Linked DNA regions of Homo sapiens: regions 2, 3, 4 and 5 are each linked to region 1. The links are contacts of gene promoters, found by promoter capture Hi-C in human tissues and cell types (Jung and others, 2019). All regions are on one chromosome and are shown on one strand. The core of a region is centred on a gene start or on the middle of the fragment in contact, and the rest is flanking DNA. Distances in the headings are between cores, read along the strand shown.

Region 1 (3,327 bases), core at 297-2,796:
CTAAGGGGTGTGTTAAGACACAGAAAGTAGGAAGATCAACACCACACACAAATCACCAAACCAAACGATATTACAAAACTCTTAAAGTGGGGGCCATAGACAGTGGATATGCAAAAGTTACCCAAGTTAAAAGCAGAAAGTAAAAAGTACAAAGGAAGACAAAAACACCCTTTTCTGTTGGGAAATTATCCGAGTGGTAAGCTAACAATGAAGTAGAAAGATATATTTGAATTCAACAGTAAAATATGCAAAAAAGAAAACGGTACCAAAAGGGGAGAAAAAGGGGAGACAAGGGTTGTCGAAAAAAATGGACATCAGCAAGCACAGCCAGCTCAGCACCGGGGCGCTCCAGAGCGGCTGAGTGGACACAAAGAACCCAGAAAGCTAAAATAGTAGCTTTAGAAGAGCCCTAAGCCCACGCACTTAGGATGAAAGACAACACAACACTCTGAAATTCTGATCCAGATTCGTCCTAACTGAAGCCGAGTGGAAACCAAGCTTCAGAAGAGCTGTGTGCCAAAGAACGCCTGAAACCAACCAGAAAACTTATATATGAGTCTGGCGTTTTCTTCCCAACGAAGGTCTCCAAAAGCCTCCTTAGTTTGAACACGAATTCTCGGGAGACGTTGAAAAAGTGTAAAAAGGGAACGCACGGTCTACCTTACAAATGTAAACTGAACACGTTCACTTTCTTCACAGTTTTTAAGATTTGGGGTTTCTCCCCGCCACTAACAACTCAAAGGCTGATAGCCGGGAATCCTAAACCATTTAAATCCGGCCCACGAAGTTCAAGGCCCTCCCCGCAGCGCCGGGGGCCTATTTTCGGCCTTGCGGAATGGGGGAGGGGGCTGCGCGGCGTCCCGCAGTCTGGGAGGCCCCCGACACGGGCAGCCCAACGCCGAAGAGAAGCCCGAGGAAAGGAGATCTGGAACCGGGGGCAAGGGTCCAGGAGCAAGCCCCCCGCCGCCGCCCCTTCCCCGCCACTTAAGGGCCGAAAACGGCAGCTGCAGGAAGGCCACCTCGGCGGCACATGTTGGGGGGAGGAGTGAAGCCGAGGCGCGCGCCCTCCCCCCTCACCAAGGGCGCTCGCGAACCCGAGTACAGGCGGCTGCGAACGCCGTTGTCATGGGGGAGGGGCGGGGGGGGGTGAAGCCCGCGCGCGACAGGAACGGCGGGAAGGGGGAAGGGAGGCGAGGGCGTCCGCGCCAGCGAAGGGCGTCGAGCGCGCGTGCGCGCGGAGGAGCTCGGCGGCCTGGGCAGTTCTCCGCGCGCTTTGGCCTCGCGCCGGGGCCGCCGCCCCTCCCCCACCCGGCTCGCTGGCTCCCTCACCCTCTCACCCGCCGCCTCCGCCCGCCGCCTCCGAGGGGGAGAGGTCTTGCCGCCGCCGCTGCTCGAGCTCCCGAGTCCCTCGGGCCTGGGGCCGCCGCCTCGCCTCGCCGGTCCGCCCGCCTCAGCCGACGCCGACGCCTCCTCGCTTCCTCAGGGGCCGCAACGGGCTCCAACTGCGCCACTCGCACCCCGCCTGGGCCGCGCTGCACGTCAGCACGACTAACTGCGTGCGTCAGCACGCAAACGCGCGTCGCGGGGCCTGCCGGGAACTGGAGTGCGCCCCGCGGCCTTTTGCGCAGGCGCCGAAGCCACACCGCGAAGTACCGTTTTTTCAGGCACAAGGAAGGTTTCACCCCGTTGCCGAAAGACTAAGCGTCCCGTTGGCCAGTGCAACGAAGAACGGAGGAAGCGACGTAAGACACCGCGTATTCGTAGGCCTTCCGCTGCGGGGAGGAGCACAGGGCCTAGCGGCAGCAAAGCGACGCCCGAGCGCGTCTCGTCTCCCGCTGTCGATGCAGAGCATTCTGGGAGTTGTGGTTCGGGCGTGTCGCGGAGCCCGGATGTAATTTCGGCTCGGGGCGTGGCGGCCATTTTGTCTCCCCATGTTGGGAGACGATATCCCAGCCGCGGTGGTGCTGCCGCTTTCGTGTGACTTTGGGTTTCCCGAGCGAGCCCGCAGCTGCACAGCAGTCCGCCTTCCCGTACCCGAGAGAAGCCGCCTCAGACCCCAGCCAGCGGGCACCCCCGGAGGCCCCGAGCCTGGCTGCAGGCCCTAGACCTGCACCAGGGGCCCAACCAGTTACCCGTAGCATGGGCCACGTTCTCCCGCTGTAGACCGGGCTGAGGCCCGACGGCCACCCCTGGGGGAGGAGTTTTCTTAGCTTCCGGTAGGGCAGCCAGGCCGGGGTCCCACCAGACCCAGGACGTGATACCGGTGAAGCGGCACATACAGGAACAAGGCAGGAGGAAAATAATAAGCACCTTAAAGTTTCCACTTTTCGGTACCGTACTTCCTGTTAATGTTTCTAAGCCCGTGATTCTGGGCCTGATAATCAGCCAGCCGTCCTCACAGCAGAGTTGTAAGACGCTGGGCTGCTCAAGCACAAGTTCATATCTAGACCCACCGCTGGCGAGCAGCCCTGGACGTCCCGCTTAGCTGTCCTAACCAACTCAGGTGGCCTTGATCCGCAACAGGACGCGGTACCACGTAATGAACTGTCCATTTGAGTGCAAGGATTTATATTTGTTATTACGATTTGGGGGTGTTTTTAAGAGGCAGGGTTTTGCCCAGGCTGTTCTCGAATTTGGGGCTCAAGCGATCCTCCGACCTCAGCCTCCCAAGTAGCTGGGACTACCCGTGCATGACACCCTATCTGGCCCTTGTTTTTTGTTGTTGTTGTTGTTCTTTCTTTTTTCACGTGGTTTCGCACTTGTCACCCAGGCTGGAGTGCAATGGTGTGTTGTCGGCTCACTGCAACCTGTCTCTCAGGTTGAAGTGATTCTCGTGTCTCAGTCTTCCGAGTAGCTGGGATTACAGGCGTGTGCCACCACGCCTGGCTAATTTTTGTATTTTTAGTAAAGACGGGGCTTCACTATATTGGTCAGGCTGGTCTCGATTTCCTGACCTCAGGTGATCTGCCCACCTCAGCCTCCCAAAGTGCTGATATTACAGGCGTGAGCCACCACGCCCGGCCCGTATCCGGCTTTAAGATTTGTTTTTCACTTGCCCGTGGGAGGATGTACTTATCTCAGATGCTAGAGCCGGGAGACCCTCCCCCCCACCACCCCCATCTCCTGCAGGAGCTCTGATCGCAGATTGGAGTGTCTGAACTCTGCATCTATGGACGGTGCTTCTGTAAGCCGGCCGCAACTCTGGAGTGGCATAGTAAAGTGGCAAAGGCTTTGCCTTTCTGGTTAAAGACCCCAGCACCTCCAGTGAGACCCTTTCCTGTACCCCCACTGATATTCTTTATGGAATGTTTTGTGCGTGAGTCAGCA
Region 2 (3,641 bases), core at 17-2,516, 520 kb after region 1:
TCATGAACCAGACCCCCGGGGCGCGCCTGCAGGGACCCCGGGACCGAGGGGTGGGCTTACGTCGGTGCCCCACTTGTCGATCACGTCCAGGTACACGTCGTAGAGCGCGTCGATCTCCGCCACGGCTTGATGCGGCGCCGCGTGCAGCGGGATCAGCACCAGGTTCTGTGCTGCTGCGGGAAGGGGTGGGGGCGTCAGAGCTCGGCGGGAGGGGAGGGGCGGGGCCCGCTCACCGGTGCCGGGGGCCGAGAACTTGACCACGAAGGGCTCGCGGCTGAAGACGTCCTCGGGGTCTGGGTACAGGTAGGTGTCCACGACCGACACCGCGTCTTTCCTAGGAGATGGGGAGGACCCGCTGAGCCCCCGACCTGCGGCCCCGCGCGCCCCTCCCTGCGGCCCGCCCCTCACCTGTACACGAACAGGTACATCTCCTTGTACTGGTCCCGGCCCAGGGGCTGGCTGCTCACAAAGCTGTACTCGTGCTCGGACACGCTGCGGAGACAGGGGCCCGCTCAGGGTCGGGGCGCCGCGCCGGGGCGAGATCCCGGCGGGGGGTCGCGACGAGGGGCCCTGCCCACCACACCTGTTGATCTGCTCCATGAGCGCGGACACGGCGCTGAGGTCTGGGTCTCGCACCTCCTGCACCAGCGCGAGGTCATAGCCAGCCAGGATCTGGGGAGGAGCGGCGGGTGCGGGGGTCAGCGCGGTCAGCACCCCTAAACGCCGCCCCGCCCCGGCCCGGGCCCCACCTTCGCGATGATGCTGCCGCAAGCGGGGTCCGACACTTTGCTGTCACCGAAGCTCTGAATGTTGAAGGCTCCGATGCGAAGCGCGGCGGTCCCGGCGGCTTCCAGCGCCCAGAGTGCGGCCAGCAGAGCCCGGGGCCCGCCCATGGCGCGGAGCGAGAGGCTGGGAGGGACAGACGCTGCCGCCTACGCAGACCCGCTGTCAGACCCACCGACCCACCCCTTCCCTCCGCGGCCGCCCCTTGACGGCCAGTGCGACGCGGAATCCGCCCCTGCGTTCTGCAGGCTCCCAGGGCACTGCTGGGCTCTCAGGGACCGCTGCCTTCTCACTGCGCGGGAAGCTGCAGCCGGAATGGAGGGTCCGGCCCATCCAGCCCCAGCTCAGGGCAGCCGAGAGACTCACCTTGGATGTGGGTGCAGAGGCCCGAGGCTCAGAGATCCTAGGGGGATGGGGATCCCGGGTCCAGGCTGCGGGCGTGTCCGACACAGGACTGCACTGACTCCCTCTGGCAGTAGCTCTGGCACCAAGGCAGGGGCCGGTATTTGAGGTCCTGGGCCAGGGAGGGGCCGGGCTGCACTGGGTCCCGCCCCCTCGACTCAGCTGGGTGCCTGATGAACTCCTGGCTTTCATTCCCATGGAGACCCCCAGGGTAAGGGGTGGGAGACCTGCCTGAGCCGGTTCTGGTGCCCCAGACCTGTCCCAAAACCGTCCCAGAAGCCCCTGCCAGCCCCCTAGGAGGGAGGTAGACGGTCAGCCACATCCCGGTGCGGCTGTGTTCTTGTCCTCGCCCCTAGAAATTAGGTCGCCTAGACTCTGCCTCCCTGAGCAGAATCCCTTCAGGGAAAGCAAGGCAGCGCAGGTAGGACCAGCCACACTCCCTACCCAGCATCTCCTGCTGCTGCTCCACCTGCTCACCCTGCGGTGGAGGCCGAGGCTCCCAGATCTCCCTGTCCCCGTCCCTGGTCCTCCCACCCACCCACAGGCCTCAGGCAGCGCAGCTGGGGGCACAGCTCCAGCTGGGCAGGGCAGGAGGCTGTTGGTCAACATGCCAATGACACCCACACAGCACCAAGGCGCCGCCAGGGCTGGCAGAAGCCCCTGGGTGGGGCGGCCAGGCACGTGAGTCTAGGAGTGGCCTGGGAGGCAGGTGCTGCTGCGGGGGCCTGGGCAAAGGTGGTGGCACCAGCCGCGGAGGCTGCCACTGCCACAACATCACAAGCTGCAGGTTCTCATGTTTTATTGTAAAGCAACAAGAAACTCTTATGTACACTGTCCGTCTTGGGGCGCCTCCATCCTGTGCCATCTTCTCTACCAGGCCAGGCAGGCATGGGTGGGGCGCTCAGAGTCCTCTGCCCTGTCCCTGCCCGGCCAGGACCCCGCAGACCTCATGCTAGACGATGACCGTCTGCACCTCCAGCTGGCCCTCCGGCGAGGCGATGACCAGCTCGCCTGCATGCTCCAGGATCTCGATGTCCTCTGATGACACCATGGTCACAGTGGCCTGTTCAGTGCCACTTGTCCCTGCCCGGGCGGCAAGCACAGTGCCCTCGCTGATGGCCGAGGCCAGCGTCATGGCCACCTGCTCTGTCAGGCTCTCGGGGGTGGCGATGGTGATGGTGTCGGCGGCAGCCGCCTCTGGGCCCAGCGCCGTCTCCTCGTCCATGGTGACGTTCTGCACGATGATCTGGTGGCCGGCGCTAGCCTGGTGCACGATCTGCTGCACCACCTTCATGATGTGGCTGTCCACCTGCAGGGCCACGGCTCAGCAAGAGCGGCTGTGCCAGGGAGCCTCCCCGCCCCCGCCTGCCCTACCCCTCACCTCTGTCTGGGTGCCCTCGATGATCTCCGTGGCCTCACTGGTCTCCGCATCGTCCGCAGTGGCCTGGGCAGATGGGCAGAAGGACAGAGGTCAGCCTTGGCTGCCCCTGGGTCCCAGCACGGCCCCAGGGCCCCACACCCACCTCGATGATATACTCCTGGGTGTCAGCTACCACGGACGAGAACTCCACCAACACTGTGTGCGGGTCTTCCGTGAGGACGGTGGTGGCTGCCGCGGGGCTGTCCTCAGACACCAGCAACTCCTCCACCTCCAGCAGGCAGCCCCCTGTGGGTGGGGACTCGGTCAGGGCTAGGCAAGCCCCGGCCCCCTCCCCTCCCCCTCCCACCTCCACCGGCCCAGACCTTTGGTGCGCAGGTGCCGGTTCAGCGTGCCGTGCTCGGCGAAGCCACGGCCGCACTTGTAGCACTTGAACGGCTTCTCGCCTGTGTGGTGTCGCACGTGCCGCACCAGTGAGCCCTTCTCTCGGAAGCCACGGCTGCAGAACTGGCACACGTGCGGCTTCTCCTCCAGGTGTGTCCTGAAGTGCACCTGCTGTGCGTTCTGTGGAGACACCTGTCAGTGCCAGCCTGGCCTTGGCCACAACAGACTACAGCTCTCCCCTCCCGCCTGTGGCCCAAGGGAGGGGCTGGGTCAAGACTGAGCATGGTGGAGGCAGGGAAGGGGGTGCACCTGGGCCACGGCCAGGGAGCAGGATGGGGGGATCAGGCGCCAGGGTCCTGCGGCCAGAGACCCACCTTAGTCTTGTAGCGCTTGCCACACTTGGGACAAGGGTAGGGCCGCTCGTCTGAGTGGACGCGCCGGTGGCCACGCACATGGGCAATGGTCTTGTAGAGCTTCCCGCAGTCGCCACAGCGGAAGCGGCGCTCACGCACGTGCACCTCCTGGTGCTTCTTGAGCAGGTAGGCCTTGGGGAAGGCCTTGCCACACTGCGCGCAGGCGAACGGCCTCGGCCCTGCAGCCACACACAGCATCAGGCCAAGCCCATCACCCGCGGGCCCGCCAGGCCGCCTGCCACCTGCCCACAGATCCCCTGGCTCCCTGCTGTCTATGGACC
Region 3 (3,525 bases), core at 976-3,475, 590 kb after region 1:
CCTCCCGGACTCAGGACCAGCCCAGCTCAGATGTCACGATGAGCCCTGGGCTCGAGATTGAGGCCTCGAGAGGCTGCCGTGTGACTGGGCCTCGGTTTCCCCATCTGTCATGAGGGGCCAGGTGAGGTACCTGTGGGCGCCCTGCTGCCTGGCTCTGCCCATCCCTGCCGCCGAGGGGCCAGGCATAGCAGCCGTGCCCTGCCCCATCATGGGTACCTTCCGCCGTGTGACAGGGGCCATGGGGCTTCTAAGGGTAGATGAAAAGGCACCGTTTTTTGGGGGGTAGGATTAGAAAAAAAAAGAGGGCCCCTGGAGAGCCCCTGAGGGGATCACCAGCAGCAAAGAGGCGCTACTGTAAGCAGGTGTCCTTGGCGGCCCTATGACCCCATGGCCAGGTTTATCAGAGCAATTAAAAAGCTAATTAGCAGCCAGTGTGCTTCTACAAAGGGCAGAGTGCCAGAAAGGAGAGAGAACAAAGTCACCCCAGAACCCCACCCCGGAATGAGGGTCCCTGGCCCTGCACCTCGGGAAGAAGGCACTGCCACTTCCGCATGGTCTCCCTGAGCACGGCGCTTGCGTTCAAAGCGCAGCACTCTGGTTTTTAGGGGATAGGACTGAGAAGCAGCAGGGAAGCTTCAGGTTTCTGTCGTGTATCCCGCCCAGTGGTCTTGTGCAGGTGAAGATTTATTGGGCTTGGCTTGCTGGCTCATGCCTGTAATTCCAGCACTTTGGGAGGCCAAGGCAGGAGGATCACGTGAGCCCAGGAATTTGAGACCATCCTGGGCAACATGGTGAGACCTCATCTCTACCAAACATAAAAAAAATTAGCCAGGTGTGGTGGTGCCTGTGGTCCCAGCTACCTGGGAGGCTGAGGTGGCAGGACTGATCCCAGGAGGCACAGGTTGCAGTGAGCCAAGATTGCGCCACTGCATTCCAGCTTGGGTGACAGAGTGACACCCGTCTCAAAAAAACAAACCAGACTTATGGATCTCTTCCACTCTCCCTCCCTTCCTATTAACATGTCACAACTGCAGCACTGTTACTGAAGCCCTAGGGCCAAACTCAAGAGAAGACCTCCGGGCACACGGGACCTTTCGGAGGCTGGCCAGGAGCCTGAGACTGGGGACAAGCTGGGGATCACTGTGACAAGGGACAGGGCTGTGTGGTGGTGCTGGAGATGTCAGGGCAAGCCTCCCTAGAGGGGATGAAGAGGGCAGGGAGAGAGGGCACAGCACAGTCACCGAGGCACAAGGAGCAGGACACCCGACTCCTGTCCAGTGGGGAGGCCCAGGGCTGAGAGGCTGTGAGGACACAGGCTGCGGTGTGAGGCTGCCCGCGCCCAGCACTGGCACCCAACACCAGCTCACCGGGAAGTGTCCCTCAGTCCTTAGCAGGGTGGGCATGGGGGTGCCCCGGTTATTCCCAGCCTGGGCTGGCCTTGGCTTAAGGGCTCACCTTTTGTGATGGTGGTGACGGCTGAAAAGGCGGGTCCGAAGGTCGTTTCCATTCTGGTCTAGAGGGAGGACGGAGGAGACCTGGCCTCATTCCGGGACACAAGGAGGACGTGCACATGTGGAGCCCACTCACATGCCTAACACGCGACCAGGCCAGGCCACGCAGCACTCACACACTTAACCATGCGACCAGGCCACGCCACGCAGCACTCACACGCTTAATCATGCGACCAGGCCGCGCCACGCAGCGCTAACACGCTTAACCATGCGACCAGGCCAGGCCACGCAGCACTCACACGCTTAACCATGCGACCAGGCTGCGCCACACAGCACTCACACGCTTAACCATGCGACCAGGCCAGGCCACGCAGCACTAACACGCTAAACCATGCGACCAGGCCAGGCCACGCAGCACTCACACGTTTAACCATGCGACCAGGCTGCGCCACACAGCACTCACACGCTTAACCATGCGACCAGGCCAGGCCACGCAGCACTAACACGCTTAACCATGCGACCAGGCCAGGCCACGCAGCACTCACACGCTTAACCATGCGACCAGGCCGCGCCACGCAGCACTCACACGCTTAACCATGCGACCAGGCCGCGCCACACAGCACTCACACACTTAACCATGCGACCAGGCCGCGCCACGCAGCACTAACACGCTTAACCATGCGACCAGGCCGCGCCACGTAGCACTAACACGCTTAACCATGCGACCAGGCCAGGCCATGCAGCACTCACACGCTTAACCATGCGACCAGGCCAGGCCACGCAGCACTCACACGCTTCAGCATGCGACCAGGCCAGGCCACGCAGCACTCACACGCTTAACCATGCGACCAGGCCAGGCCATGCAGCACTCACACGCTTCAGCATGCGACCAGGCCAGGCCATGCAGCACTCACACGCTTAACCATGCGACCAGGCCAGGCCACGCAGCACTCACACGCTTAACCATGCGACCAGGCTGCGCCACACAGCACTCACACGCTTAACCATGCGACCAGGCCAGGCCACGCAGCACTAACACGCTTAACCATGCGACCAGGCCAGGCCACGCAGCACTCACACGCTTAACCATGCGACCAGGCTGCGCCACACAGCACTCACACGCTTAACCATGCGACCAGGCCAGGCCACGCAGCACTAACACGCTTAACCATGCGACCAGGCCAGGCCACGCAGCACTCACACGCTTAACCATGCGACCAGGCCGCGCCACGCAGCACTCACACGCTTAACCATGCAACCAGGCCGCGCCACACAGCACTCACACGCTTAACCATGCGACCAGGCCGCGCCACGCAGCACTAACACGCTTAACCATGCGACCAGGCCGCGCCACGTAGCACTAACATGCTTAACCATGCGACCAGGCCAGGCCACGCAGCACTCACACGCTTAACCATGCGACCAGGCCAGGCCACGTAGCACTCACACGCTTAACCATGCGACCAGGCCAGGCCACGCAGCACTAACACGCTTAACCATGCGACCAGGCCAGGCCACGCAGCACTCACACGCTTAACCATGCGACCAGGCCGCACCACGCAGCACTAACACGCTTAACCATGCAACCAGGCCGCGCCACGCAGCACTAACACGCTTTACCATGCGACCAGGCCAGGTCACGCAGCACTCACACGCTTAACCATGCGACCAGGCCGCGCCACGCAGCACTCACACGCTTAACCATGCAACCAGGCCGCGCCACACAGCACTAACACGCCCCAACCACACACGCACGCGTGCGCGCGCGCGCGCGCGCGCGCACACACACACACACACACACCACACCCCCCCCCACCGAGCTCCCCTGAGACCCCAGCTCGGGACGGGACTGCGCTGGGAGCTCTGCAGGCAACACCAGATCCCTGGGGCATGCTGGGGGTCCTGGGGATGTTGGGCTTGCAGAGGGGCACACCCTTACCCCTGTGGTGACGTCTGGGGTGGGAAGATTGCTGGGCCCCCCGGAGAAGCGGTTGTAGCGGGCACTCTTGCCTGAGCTCATGCTCTAGAGAGGCATCTACGGTCCTTGGGAAGCACCTCCTGTGGGTGGAGCACA
Region 4 (3,666 bases), core at 360-2,859, 600 kb after region 1:
TGGCATAGGGCAACTAACTATGCTTGTCGGGTGCAGCCACCAGCCCAGGTGTTGGAAGGTCGAGGCAGGCAGCTTCTGGGGTCCAGGCCTCGAGCCTGTTGGTACCATGGGGATCAGAGAGAACTTGCTGCTCGGGTACCGGCGGGACTCTGATGTGGGGCCAGGCCAGGGCCTCCACTCACCCGGAAGTCAATGCCTACGGTGGAGATGAAGGTCCCCGCCAGGAAAGCACCATCCTTGAATCGCACCAGCAGACAGGTCTTCCCCACACCCGAGTCCCCCACCAGCATGACCTAGGACAAGCAGGAGGGTTGGGGGGAGTCTGGTCTGCCCTGAGCTGGCCTGGTCAGAAGGGGGCTGCAGGTGAGGAGCAGGAGTGGAGGGAGGCAGCCCAGGCCTGCAGGCTCAGCGGGGCCAGGGACCCCGATGGGCTGGACACCCAGCGTATGCCTCTGAAAGGCTGGGGCTGCTCTGTCCTTCTGCACAGTGGCCGTCTCAGTCAGCGGGGAGTGAGGGCAGCCACCTGCATCCCGGACCCTCCCTAACGTCCATACCCCCACACGGTGGACAGCATCTGGGAGGGGAGCAGGTGGGGTGGCAGCTGGGTACCTCCTAAGAGACTTGGGGAGGCCTCTGCCGGGGGCTTCTCCACATCCCAGTAGGGACATGACCCCAGCAAGGCTCGAGGAATTTGCCCCATTAGGATCAGATCTCGATCTGAAGAGGGACCTGGGCCAAGTCTGAGGTTGGGGGGAGGTGCAAGTGGGCAGCAGTCAGGCCTTCTCCCCGAAACCTGTGCTACCAAACCCAAAATGGTCCTCCCAGCCCCCTGCCAAGTCCACACAGCCTCTGCCTTGGTCTGGAGTCCCAGGGTTCCCCATCCATCTGGCAAACCTCTTCCCCCCAGCAAAAAAAAAAAAAAAAAAAAAAGGCCCACAGCCGCTGGGTTGAGGGAGGGCAGCATACGGGAAATGGTGAGACCCCGGGCGGGGGCCAGGGCACTGGGGCGCGGGACCCCTTGTGCCACCATGCCGCCTGGGGGGTGGGGGACAGGCCCTGCCAGCTGTTGGATACCCCAGACCTGGGATGGACAGCTGTGTGTGCACGATGCACCGTGCAAGCCCCACGGGGTTCCTCCCGCGTCGGCTCCGCGCCCTGGGGCCGCGGGCCCTGCACCCCCTGTCCGACCCCCAACCCTTGGCTCAGGCCGGGCGCCACCTGCTGCGCTGGCCTGGGGGGCGGGTGCCTGGCTCACCTTGAAGGCGACGTCGTAGAAGTCGACACCGCCGCCAAGCGAGGGCCGGCCGGGCTGCAAGGGCCCGTTGGGCGGCGCGTCGGGGCCGGAAAGCGCAGTCCCGGAGCGCGCCGGTCGGGCCCCGTTGGCGGTGGGCAGCGTGGAGGCAGCGGGGGTGCTGGCCCCTTTGCTCTTGGGGGTCTTCTTCCTGGACATGGCGGGCGGGCGCTCAGTGTGCTCCCGCTGCAGCCGCCGTGCCCTGGGCCGTCCCGCACCCCGCGCCCGCCGAGCCCGACCCGGACCCGAACCCTTCCCCTGGCGGCGGCGGCGGCGGCGGCGGCGGCGGCGGCATCATCCCGGGCGCCCGGCTCGCGCCCCGCCCCCGCCGCTCCACGGGCGCGCAGCCACTCAGGCCCGGCCTCCCGCCGCCGCCGCCAATGCCGTGCGTGGGGCGGGGACATGCAAATACACCCCCGCTCGGCGGGGGGTGGGGGGCGGTCAGGAGGTCCGGGCCCCGTCCCGCCCCCGATCACGACCCCTGCCCGTGGCTGCCTTGGGGCCAGGAGCCAGCTGTGGGGTGACAGGCCTGGGCCAGGAGTCACCCCGGGATCCTGAATCCCCTCTGCTGGCTGCACACCACCCCAGCTCGGTGACCCCCAAACTGGACCGCCAGACCTGGGAGGAAGGGGTGTCCTGAGATGTGGGTGCTGGGGCAGAGGGCCCGCATGGACGGGCACCGCGGGCTTCTGTCTCCTTAGCCCCAGATGCCTAGCGCTTGGCCCGGTGCCCTTCACTGCTCCATCCCCTCCAGGGTAGGCGGGTCCAGGAAGCTCCAGCCCTGGCTTGGCAAACACACCAGGCTGCTGGGGCAGGCGCCCTGGGCTCAGGTGACAGCTGGTCACCGGGAGGACACAGCGGGCGCTGCGATCTCCCCCACAGCTTCTGCCTGCTGTGCACGCCTGGGGATCTGCGGGAAGGAGGAAGTCGCTGTGGCAGCCAGCCCCCGGCCCCCTGAGGGTCCCCTCCCACGGGACTCTGCCCTCAGGGTCTGAAAGGTGGAAAGCAGAGGCCCCTGCCCAGGCTGTGTGGCTGGCCCCTTGTCCTTCTCCTCCAGGTTCGGACCTTCAGGTGGCCAGGGCCGATTCTCCAAATCCTAAGCTGGTCCCTGGCAGACCCACCTCCCCAACCTGGGCTGCACTGGAGCTCTGTCACCCCCTCTCACAGAGAAGATGGGACTGCAGTGGTCAGAGCTGGGGCACAGTGGTCCAGAGGGGTGGTGTCCTTGGCATGCAGGGGCTTCTTGGTGTTTCTTTGGGAGCTGGAGAGATGACCCAGCTGTCCCCGGAGACCTGACAGCTGTCACCAGGACCTTGGGCCCTTCAGAGACCTGAGCCCTCCCAGCTGGCAGTGCCCAGAGTCCAAACAATTGGCTGCCTCTCGGGTCAGAGGCCTGAGAAAACACAGATGGGGGGCACTGCCCAGCAGAGTGATTCCTCGAGAGGGCCTGGCAGAGGCCGTGGAAGCCTGCCCTACAGCAAGCACTGTTGTGTGCCAGGCACACGACCTCTTCAAAGTTATCCTGCAAGGTGGGTACTGCCCTCAGTGTCCAGATGGGGAAACCGAGGCCCAGAAAGGCAAGGAGCCTGTGCAAGGTCAGCAGGCTAGGAAGGGCAGAGCTAGGATTTGTTCCTGTGATCTCCAGCTCCAGAGAACATAAACCGTCCCATGGCAGAAATCCCTGTAGACTTAATCCCCAGGAACCTGGCAGAGCTGGGGGTCAAACCCGGAAGCCCTCTCAGAACCCTTCCTTGTCTCACTCCTCTGGCCCCCCAGCTCTTCCAGACCAACCCCCAGTGTGTGTGCACTGGGCCTGGGTAGAGGCATTTAGCTTCTGCAGCTGCAGCCCTGGGGACTCCAGGTGTCCACCCGCGCTACAAGGCCTCTTTCAGGATGGCTGGCCCAGGGTCTGAGCTGGGGGCCTCAGCAGCTGCTGTGCACTGGCCCCAGGGTCCTGGGCAGTGGACTCCCAGTCCAGTGGACCCCGTCCTGCCAGCTGCTGCTCAGGTACCCCCAGGGCGCGGGCAGCAGGAGGAGTTGGGTGCAAGTAGGGCATCCTGCAGGGGGAGGAGTGCGGATGGGGCCCCCAGGAAGAGAAGGAGGCAGGCGCGCTGGAGAAAGTGGGAGGCCAGGCGGGGAGGGGAGCCTTGAGAGAGCAGAGGAAACGGGCTTGCGCTGGCAACCTTTAAAATTAGGAGAGTTTACATAAAAATCCAAGTCTCTGGTTTCTCTTGAAAATGGGGAGCTCTGGGTGCCTGCATCACAGACCCCTCTCTTGGCTTCCAGCAGGCCTCGGAATCTTTGATCATTATGTCTCTTGGTTGCTGTGTTTGCCATCTGTTTCACCCTCTGGAGTGTAAGCTCTCCGGGCACAG
Region 5 (3,691 bases), core at 594-3,093, 740 kb after region 1:
TCCTTACAATAACTTTTCCCAGTTTTCTTTTTTTTTTTTTGAGATGGAGTCTCACTCTGTGGCCCAGGTTGGAGTGCAGGGGCGCAATCTCTGCTCATTGAAACCTCTGCCTCCTGGGATCAAGCGTTTCTCGTGCCTCAGCCTCCCGAGAAGCTGTGACTACAGGCGCATGTCACCACGCCCCGTTAATTTTTGTGTGTTTTGGCCAGGCACAGTGGCTCATGCCTGTAATCCCAGCACTTTGGGAGGCCAAGGCAGGTGGATCAAGAGGTCAGGAGATCGAGACCATCCTGGCGAACATGGTGAAATCCTGTCTCTACTAAAAATAAAAAAAAAAAATTAGCAGGGCGTGGTGGCGGGTGCCTGTAGTCCCAGCTACTCAGGAGGCTGAGGCAGGAGAATGGCGTGAACCCGGGAGGCGGAGCTTGCAGTGAGCCGAGATCACGCCACTGCACTCTAGTCGTGTGTGTTTTTTTTTTTTTTTTTGAGATGGAGTCTCGCTCTGTTGCCAAGGCTGGAGTGCAGTGGCGTGATTGTCGTGATCTCGGCTCACTGCAACCTCTGCCTCACGGTTTCAAGAGATTCTACTGCCTCAGGCTGCCGAGTAGCTGGGACTACAGGCACATGTCACCACGCCCGGCTAATTTTTGTATTTTTAGTAGAGATGGGGTTTCACCATTTTGGTCAGGCTTGTCTCCAATTCCTGACCTCAGGTGATCCCAACCTCCCAAAGTGCTGGGATTACAGGCGTGAGCCACCACGCCCGGCCTAAAAATTTTTTTTGTGGAGATGGAGCCTGACTGTGTAGGCCAGGCTGGTCTCAAATTCCCAGGCTCCAGCAATCCGGGCCACCCAGCCTCCCAAACTGCTGGGATTACAGGCTTGAGCCACTGTGCCTGACAGCTTTTTTCAAGTGGCAAAATTGGGGTTTCAAGCCCATTTGTGTCTGTTTCTAAAGTCCAAGTTCACTGGGCATGGATCACTTGAGCCCAGGAGGTTGAGGCCTCAGTGTGCTGTGATCGTACCACTGTGTTACAGCAAGAGCAAGACCCGGTCTCAAATAAAGTAAGTAAAGTTCAGGCTCATTGATACAATTTACTGCCTCTTTTCCAGTAGGGTTTAGATCTGGACCTGCCTTCTGGATGGCAGAGGGAGGGAGGTCCTGAGTGTGCCTGGCCCTCAAGGGTAGGGAGGAGGCCCTGTTACTGCAGCATCCATCCAAACACGTCCTGTGCTGGGCCCAGCGTAAAGAGGACAGGTTCCGTTCGTGCCTTCCAGAGGCCCCTTCTGGGCAGGCCTGGCGAGACTGCCCTGGGCTGCGAGATGGACGTCACCACGTGCTGCCTTTCACGTTGTCTTTCATGTAGGGATTTAAACAGGGCATTAGGGAAGTGGAGGCGGGACCACGCTTGTGTGTGTTCCAAATACCAGAGACCGGTTTCCTAATAAGGTGGCCAGATTTAGCAAATACAAATACGGCAGGTCCACTTAAATGTCAATTTCAGATAAGGAGCAGCATTTTAGTATGAGCCTAGCCCATCAATATTTGGGCTATACTTACACTAAGACATGACCCCTTGTTCATCTGAGATGCAAACCAGTTGTGCCGTGTTTCATCTGACAACGCCAGTTCGTGGAGCCCGGCGAGTGTTGACGTGACACGCGTGGCCCAGAGGAGCCCGGGGCTGGCCGCGTGGCCGCGCGGACCTTCGAGCGGTCGGCTCATGGTAGAGCGGCCTCTATCAGGGCCACCGCTCTAGCCGGCGCCGCGCTGAGGCGGAAGTCGCGACGCGCACTTGCGCCGGGCGGGCCCGTTGCTGGGTGGGGCGGTGACGTTTGCCCGGAAGGGGCGGGCCCGCCGGGAGCCAGGCCGCTCGGCGCCACGACCGGCCGAGAGGGGGGCCGGATCCCGGACCATGGCGGCGGCCGGGGGGCGCCGAGGGGCGGCGCGCGGACATGGAGGCGGAGGCGGCGGCAGCTCCTGAGCGGGGAGGCGGGAGCTGCGTGCTGTGCTGCGGAGACCTGGAGGCCACGGCGCTGGGGCCGCTGCGACCACCCGGTGTGCTACCGCTGCTCTACCAAGATGCGGGTGCTCTGCGAGCAGCGCTACTGCGCCGTGTGCCGCGAGGAGCTGCGCCAGGTGCGGGGCGCCGGGGGCGCGGCCCGGGGGCAGCGGGGCTCCCGGCGACCGGATGGGGACTTTGCCTCACTGAGGTCCGGCCGTGGGCCCGGCGGCGCCGGCTTCCGAGAGAGGCCTGGTGGGGCCACCCAGGGCGGGGTCCCGGCCGTGCGGCTGACGGCGGGGCGTTGGGGCTTGGAGGCCGGAGGCGGCCGAGCGGGTTGCAGGAGGGGGCAAGCCCTGTGGGGACAGCCTGGGGACTTCCCCCGTGTCCCGGGGGTTCCTGCCGGGCCTCAGGAAGGGTCCTGATCAGATGGAGAACTCGGTGACCTGCTCGTCTTCAGGAGTTTATTTTCCAGGGTCCTCCATTCGAGGAAACAAGGCAAGGGGGACTCTGCGGAGGCCATCCGTCCTGGAAGCAGGGCGTCAAACTCTGGGCATTCTCAGCCCAGCTGTGTTTCTGGGCCCCCATTGGATGACCCTGAGCAAACTCCTTCCGAGACTGACGTTTTCCTCTGTGGAGTGGAGGTGACACTAGCCTCGGAAGGAGACCTGCCCGTCGGAGGGGAAGGCCCCCTCGCGCTTCTTGGCGGGAAGGGAGAAAAGTGTTAGGAAGTTGTCCTCCTCCTCGCCGCCGCCCCCCGCCTTTGGCGCTCATCTCCGCAGTGAATGGGAGACGTTTTTGACTGTACAGACTTGGAAGCCGTGGAGGGGTCAGAGGGTACCATGCAGCGTTCCTCCACCCTCACTGCACTGCCAGCTGCTGGCTGTGGGCACCTGGCTGGAGCCCGTTGGTTTGCTGAGCTTAGAGATTTGTTTGCTTCCAGCATTGTGAAATTCCCCCGGTTTGTTCATAGAAGGCTTCGGCTGGTGACATCTGCCAGGAATCTAACTTTCTTCTCCCCAGAAGTGATGCAGAGCAGTATTGAGGTGTAGGTTCTTTCTTTTTTTCCTTTTCTTTCTTTAAGTAGACGTTTACATCAAAGGAGTTGAAGAGATGCTGCAATTCTCTGAGCAATTTGTGGGCTTATAGTCTGTGCCCTTTTTGGAAAAAGACATTTGGAGATTCTATCAGTCTGTCATGTGACAGGAGGAGGCCGACCCAGACCCCGGGGAGATCTGGGGTGCAGGAACAGTCACAGAGGACCTTGGCCCGTGGCTTCCTCAGGGCGCTTCCTGGCTTTGCCAGGGCCTGCCTTGCCAGCCAGTCCTGCATAGCATGACCTCACTCTCCAACAGCTAGGTTTCCCAGCACACCTGTAGCTTCCTTCCGGAAAGAAGACGCTAAGGAGTTCTTGGCACGTGAGGTCCCGACCCAGGCTGCAGGTCTGATGCAAGACATGAGTGAACATCTGCGTATGCTTACTGTGGCAGCCTCTGCCCGCTCTCATTCCTTGTAGGCCCCACGCCCTCCAGGAGCTCTGTGGCTGGGGGCTGCGGACATGAGCTGTCAGCCGGGGTGTGGTTTGGCACTGGGTGCCCCCAGCCGGCTTCCTCTAGGGCCTACCCCGCCTTACTGGGCTGAAGGAGGGGCTCCTGGAAAGTTTGCTGTTTGCTGGTCTCCTCTCCTTT

Evidence for each region. The method cuts DNA at HindIII sites, captures the fragments that hold promoters and counts their contacts. A contact is called where the count stands out against the background at its distance.
Region 2: a contact is called between the fragment with the promoter of DNASE1L2 here and the fragment with the promoter of SRRM2 in region 1, in 3 of the 25 tissues and cell types used here (dorsolateral prefrontal cortex, hippocampus and spleen).
Region 3: a fragment that was not itself captured here is called in contact with the fragment with the promoter of SRRM2 in region 1 in 3 of the 25 tissues and cell types used here (dorsolateral prefrontal cortex, lymphoblastoid cells and ovary).
Region 4: a contact is called between the fragment with the promoter of RAB26 here and the fragment with the promoter of SRRM2 in region 1, in 1 of the 25 tissues and cell types used here (spleen).
Region 5: the fragment with the promoter of ZNF598 here is called in contact with the fragment with the promoter of SRRM2 in region 1 in 1 of the 25 tissues and cell types used here (lymphoblastoid cells).

What each region holds. Positions count from the first base shown.
Region 1 is chr16:2,750,857-2,754,183 of GRCh38, reverse strand. SRRM2 (serine/arginine repetitive matrix 2) reads right to left here and starts at 1,546. Exons shown (of 15, transcript NM_016333.4): 1 at 1,338-1,546. SRRM2-AS1 (SRRM2 antisense RNA 1) reads left to right here and starts at 1,584. Exons shown (of 6, transcript NR_027275.1): 1 at 1,584-1,742. RefSeq lists enhancers at 138-980, 981-1,823, 1,705-1,994, 2,055-2,224, 1,824-2,666 and silencers at 1,135-1,194, 1,215-1,524. The HindIII fragment of the contact is 13,386 bases long and covers 1-3,327 here.
Region 2 is chr16:2,234,069-2,237,709 of GRCh38, reverse strand. It overlaps DNASE1L2 (deoxyribonuclease 1 like 2), which reads right to left and starts at 1,266. Exons shown (of 7, transcript NM_001374.3): 1 at 1,150-1,266; 2 at 750-932; 3 at 584-672; 4 at 409-492; 5 at 61-334. The coding sequence starts at 893. E4F1 (E4F transcription factor 1) reads right to left here. Exons shown (of 14, transcript NM_004424.5): 10 at 3,322-3,539; 11 at 2,929-3,127; 12 at 2,709-2,851; 13 at 2,567-2,629; 14 at 1,968-2,494. The coding sequence ends at 2,138. The HindIII fragment of the contact is 25,906 bases long and covers 1-3,641 here.
Region 3 is chr16:2,163,867-2,167,391 of GRCh38, reverse strand. It overlaps TRAF7 (TNF receptor associated factor 7), which reads right to left. Exons shown (of 21, transcript NM_032271.3): 2 at 3,391-3,509; 3 at 1,456-1,513. The coding sequence starts at 3,471. Among named protein-coding and RNA genes, the nearest start is that of TRAF7, 9.8 kb to the right of the region's middle. RefSeq lists enhancers at 1,465-2,237, 2,238-3,011, 3,421-3,525. The HindIII fragment of the contact is 6,093 bases long and covers 1-3,525 here.
Region 4 is chr16:2,146,568-2,150,233 of GRCh38, reverse strand. RAB26 (RAB26, member RAS oncogene family) reads right to left here and starts at 1,609. Exons shown (of 9, transcript NM_014353.5): 1 at 1,256-1,609; 2 at 183-293. The coding sequence starts at 1,450. RefSeq lists enhancers at 1-402, 403-954, 955-1,506, 1,507-2,056, 2,057-2,608 and 1 more and silencers at 1,049-1,118, 1,139-1,268, 1,279-1,448, 1,539-1,628, 1,639-1,908 and 1 more. The HindIII fragment of the contact is 10,583 bases long and covers 1-2,341 here.
Region 5 is chr16:2,007,973-2,011,663 of GRCh38, reverse strand. ZNF598 (zinc finger protein 598, E3 ubiquitin ligase) reads left to right here and starts at 1,843. Exons shown (of 14, transcript NM_178167.5): 1 at 1,843-1,926; 2 at 1,928-2,039; 3 at 2,041-2,140. The coding sequence starts at 1,917. LOC124903626 (a long non-coding RNA gene) reads right to left here and starts at 1,779. Exons shown (of 2, transcript XR_007064941.1): 1 at 1,562-1,779; 2 at 1,076-1,356. RefSeq lists enhancers at 1,485-1,644, 1,169-2,117 and silencers at 1,725-1,944, 2,035-2,464, 2,475-2,544. The HindIII fragment of the contact is 21,988 bases long and covers 1-3,691 here.